Regions from separate parts of the Homo sapiens genome. Here region 2 is linked to region 1. Evidence: promoter capture Hi-C in 16 types of primary human blood cells and fetal thymus (Javierre and others, 2016). All regions are on one chromosome and are shown on one strand. Each heading gives the region's core, a stretch centred on a gene start or on the middle of the fragment in contact. The rest is flanking DNA. Distances are from core to core; before and after follow the strand shown.

Region 1 (2,655 bases), core at 100-2,599:
TGAAGCTAATTTAATTTCCCATATTGAAAGAAAATTGCCTTGGATAAAAAGTTTTGTTTTTGTTTTTATTTAAATCAGGTTATCTTTAAATAGACTCATGACAGTCCCCAAGCACCTCTTTCCAAATCTGATTTGTGAACAACACAAAAGTAATGCTGTGTTTATAAAAATTGTTTTGGAGCTGAATTTACAGAGAAAATCTTGTTGAAGGTGCAGACACGGAAAGACAGTGTTTGGAGGTACCTCCCACTGCCATGCCAGGTGTCCAGAGGTGTCAAGCTGCCAGTGTTGATTCAAATGAAAATGATAATGTTGAAGAAGGAGGCTGCAAAAGTTCCTAAGCAACCTGACGGGATATACCTTGTAAAATGCTTTCAAAAAAGCTTCAAAGGGCAGCTAATAAATGAATATACTGACAGGGTTTAATCGCTTCTCCTCTCTCCTAGTAACAGGAATTAAAGGCCACAGGTGGTTCTGGGTTGGAGGCAGGACCCAAAAGTAAATGCAGCATTCAGAGCTGCACAGGCCCAGTCAGAGCAGCTGCCACTTCAGGCACTTACAGTGGTCACCCAGGATTCAGGAGATGCATATTATAAGTAACTCAGTTCTGTAAGAGCTAGGAGTTAGTTCACACTGCTTGGGCTCTCACTAAGTAAGCCTGTGCAATGCAGGCAGGAAGGGAGAAAATGCTTACAAAAAAGAAATGAGTAGATTCTTGCCTTAGGAAAGTCAACGGGATACAATTCCTGATGGAAGAGCAGTTGCTATTCTAAGAGCTAATTAACAAGAAACAATGCTGCAAAAAACTTGGGAGACAGGACGGCAGAACACACCCAGATGGCCTGTGGGAAATTCCCAGGCCTGCCAATGATGTGAGAGAGGACATCTTGTGAATGGGTGGGTACAGCCTGTTCTTCTGGGCAAGACAAACAGTGCAGGACTCTATATGCCAGGGTGGCTGAAGCCCCAGTGTCCAAGAGGCTTGCCCATTCCTCCCTGCCCCTGGCACTGAACCCAAGCTTCCATGGGGCACTGTGGAAGAGGCCTTGCCTGACGACAAGTAGACCAAACACGACCGTCCGTCCTCTAAAAACTGCACCCTTGGAATTGGGGACAGGCAGAATAACCCTTTCACTAGCTTGATACTTAGCCTCTTGGGGTTCTGATAAATCCTTTTGAATAACCAAGCAGTTTTGTTTTTAATACCTTGGCCTGAGCCCTTTAGATGCAGCCATCCTCAACTTACAAAAAAAACAAACCAAAAGAAAAAACAAAACACACACACACACAAACAAACTTTGATTCAATTGACAAAGGTTTTCAAGGTGTCTACTACATGTAAGGCAGCACACTAGGGGTTTCTTGGGGATACGCAGATGACAAAGACAGTGTCTCTTCATCCAGGAGCTAATCAAGAGAAGGGGGAAGAATCAAGCAAACTTCATAATACACAGCCGGATGAAATGAAAAGAGACTTAGATCAAGTGCTGTGAGAGCTTGGAAGAGGCACGGGGCAAATAACACTGGGGCTGGTGGTGGGAAGGCAAGTGACAGCCTCGTGGAAGAGGTGGCATTTGACCAGAGATGAGGACGAACAGAATTAACATAGTAGGCATGAAGGAAGAAAATGCGCCTGAGGACACAGCCAGCACAAATGCAGAGGCATACAAGTGCCTGGTACAGCTGGCATGCAGGGATGGCTGAGGAACTGCGGGGGCAGCCGGTGGGATCCATCCGAGGTGAGTGATGAGAGCTGCACGGCAATTTAGGGGATGACACTAGCCACAGCGTGATGAATAAATCTTAAATGCAGAGGTAGCGCCTGGTGGTGAGCAGTTAGAGGCTGAGACAATAGCTGAGAACACATGACAAGTTCAGCAACTAGGAGAGTTTCTAGTTAATTGGAAGGAAGAGTTGGAAGCACATTCTAGAGGGCCGTGGAAGAATAAACACAATCCACTAACTGCCGGGAATGGGAGTGAAGAGTCCAAGATCACAGGGTCCTCCCTGGCTGCCTGATGGGGCAGTGGTGTTGAGTAACAGAAATGGAACAAAAGAGGGGCAAGAGATTATTCTTTGTAGCATGAGTATTAGTAGCAGTGTTAGTAGTAGTAGTATTTTTGTTAGTGGAACAAAGACAAAAATAGCTCACACTTACTGAGATCCTACAGTCTGCCAAATCTGGGAGGCTGATGGGCTCCGCTTTGCATTGGAGGTGTGTGGGCACCCACATGCAGATGAATTCTAGGGTAAATCTGGGGTGCAGGCCAGGGCTGGCCATCTAACGCTCAGAGACATTGAAATTTGAGTAACCACTGAAGCTGGGAGGGCAGGTTAGATTGTGGAAAGTGACAGAGACAGACTAGAACTGATACCAGCCCTAGGTCTCAGACACATTTTATTTGGCCTACCTAGTGTGTTTTGAAATAATTTTAATTACTTCTCAAATATTTAAACGCTAGGAAATGTCACATCACATGAAAAGTCAGGTTTTCCAACTTCTCGTGGAAAATGAGATACTCGGGAACACTGGGCCTGCACTCCTCTCATAGAAACGGCCTGGAGTTGAGCAGGGGCTTCTGCTTTTCATGGGGCACCAGATGCCCAGTCAGTCACATGCCCCACCACTCCCTATCACCTCCCACCTGGCTGGTA
Region 2 (2,655 bases), core at 42-2,541, 52 kb after region 1:
TTAATACACTGGCACTTTGGGGATACTTACTCTAAATGATGAACATACCAATTGTTTCTATAACCCTGGAGCCAAATTTAGGCAGATTTCTAATGGAGTCTGGTTCCCCAGGGTTCTGTCCTTGACTCACACTGTTCCATTTAAGAGACTCCTATTGGGTGATCTCATTCAGTCTCGTGGTCTCAACTAATAGCTATGTCCTGATGACTTCCAAATATTTAATTCAGCCCATCCTCTTTACTGAGCTTCAGACTCCTATGCCCCTATCCATGGAGCATCTCCACTGGAGTATACCTCAGGCACCTGTCATACAACCTTTCTAAAACTTCTTCCTCTTTTGCCTAGACTTCTTCCTAGGCACATGATCTCTCCTAGCTAATGGCACTGCCATCCACTCAACCTTCTAGCTAAACACCTGGAAATGATTTCCGGTTTCTTTTTTACCCTGAATCCACCCAAATACTAAGTCCTATCAGCTTTACTTGCTATTATCTCTTATGCCTTTCTCATCAGCCCTACCATCACTGTCTTAGTTCAGGTCCTCATTATCTTGTTACTTGGAACTCTGCAACTGCCTCAAAATGAACCTCTCCCTTGCAACCTGGCTGCTGCTTACCATGGGTATGTCCACACATGCCATGCCCCCCACCCGCACGTAAAAGTAAAATATAAATCCACTCATGTCATAAGACCTGCTGAGAATTCTTCAAAGGTTACCTGCTCCATAAAGCCCAGACTCCCTGGCATGGAATTTGTGTCTGACACTGCAAGTTTTCTATCAAATAATGATTCTTTCCCTTCTTAATAATGGAATGCTGATTTTTAGCTGGAACATGGCCACTTGTAATACTGTATTTCTTGGCTTTCACTGGAGCTAGACTCAGCCATATGATCAAGTTCTGGCCAATTCCATGGTAAGTACTGTGTGGAATTCCAGGAGGCCCCTTAAAGGGAGCTGACTCAGTTTGGAGGAATGCCCTCTAGCCCTTCTTACTACATGGAATTGGAATAGAGAGATGATTCCTAGATCTTCAGCAACCATTTAGACAAGGACGTGACCCTGTCTACAGCAGAACAGAAAGCACAGAAATCTGGGTTGCAAATGACTCCACGGAGCTTCCATGGCGGGGCTGGACTACCTACCTCCAGGCTTTTCATGTGAGAGAGCACTATGTTTCCATCTGGCTTAAGCCACTGTCATTTTTATGTTTCCTGTGATAGGCAATGGAGCAAAGTCCTAAGTGACCCAGAATTCAAACATCTCAAGAACAGTAAGTGCTTAATACTTCATTTCTGCAGCCTCCTCTAGCCTTCCCTCTTCCCATGCCTCCAACTTCAGGCTCCAGTGCTACCAAAGTTCCTGTCATTTTCCACTTTAACTACACATTCACCACACTTCTCTGCTTTGCTCAAACTTGCTCCCCTACCTAAACACCCTCCTTATCTTTGTTCAGCTTTTAACTCTTCACACTCAGCTCAGGCATCACCTCCTCCAGGAAGTTTGCCTGAACATCCATCTTAGGGCAAGTGGCCATTCTGTCTGCTCCCAAGATACCCTGGGAAAACTCCAATTTTGGAACCCAGCTGCCATGACTTATTAATGGCTATCTCTCTCACCCCACAGAAAGCGCCTCAAAGGGCAGACATCTCATCTACTCATCTTGTATCTACACCTCCTAATGCAACATCCGGCACTAGGTGGCAGCTCAGGAAATATGTTCTGATCTCAACTGGATTTTTCTCACTGCAATGGAGTAAACAGGGTTGAATGCCTCAAAATGTCTTGGTTTGCTCTTCATGCCAGCTGTAAGTTGAAGACTGAAACAAAATTTTCTAGCCATATTTTTGTTTTCCTGGAGATGGAAAGCAAACAGCAGATGAGTCATCCGAAGAGAATATCCACTATGAGAAACAATTTTTGGACGTTTCACACCTGAAGTCCCTCATCTGTAAAAGATAACTTGGCCCTTAGCAACGTTTGAGGTCTCCTCTGGCTCTAATATTTTATAAACCCATTGTTGAGTATAAATGCACAGACCTGGACACAGAGAACTCACTGTGAATAGATGGCTCCTCCAGGGATTGGCAACATGACCGGCCTTACCTAACCTTCAAATAAATTATTTACAAGGAGTGTTTAATAAAATCTTGAAGTCATCAGCTGACTGAACACTGTAGGATAATAAAATGCCAAGTGAAGTAAGATACGCTTCCTAGACTCCAGCCAGGCTGGCCTGCTCTAAAAACCCCTGACCTTGCCACACTCCTTCCTGTTACTGGGCATCTATCTGCGTTTGCTGTTTCTTCTGTCTCAAATGTTCCTTCCTTCCCTCTTTACCGTGACCTCAGCCCAAGAGTCACTTCCTTATAAAAATCTTCCATCTTTCCCTAACTGGATAGAATCACCCTATTCTAGGTTCTCATTCACTGCATTGTATTTCTCCTCTTCATAGCACTAGTCATGGTTGCTACTTTTTATTGGTATAATCATTTGATTGACATCTTTCTCCCTCACTGGATCATACCCTCCACTGGCGAGTATTTTTGTTTTTGCTCATACCATTACATCCATATCCTTGGCAGAAGGGTGACGCTCAACAAATACTTGTTAAAAGATCTCCAGAGGCCATGCAAGGGTGCAGAACAGTGGCTGAT

What was found. Contacts are between HindIII fragments. The CHiCAGO score rates a contact against its expected background, and 5 or more counts as called.
Region 2: a contact is called between a fragment that was not itself captured here and the fragment with the promoter of PRKCH-AS2 in region 1, in 3 of 17 cell types (neutrophils, activated CD4 T cells and M0 macrophages). The highest score is 16.3, in neutrophils.

What each region holds. Positions count from the first base shown.
Region 1 is chr14:61,544,178-61,546,832 of GRCh38, reverse strand. PRKCH-AS2 (PRKCH antisense RNA 2) reads left to right here and starts at 1,349. Exons shown (of 3, transcript NR_188139.1): 1 at 1,349-1,739. All of the region lies in intron 12 of PRKCH (protein kinase C eta), which reads right to left. The HindIII fragment of the contact is 1,799 bases long and covers 1,022-2,655 here.
Region 2 is chr14:61,491,714-61,494,368 of GRCh38, reverse strand. All of the region lies in intron 10 of PRKCH (protein kinase C eta), which reads right to left. Among named protein-coding and RNA genes, the nearest start is that of PRKCH-AS2, 52 kb to the left of the region's middle. The HindIII fragment of the contact is 5,736 bases long and covers 1-2,655 here.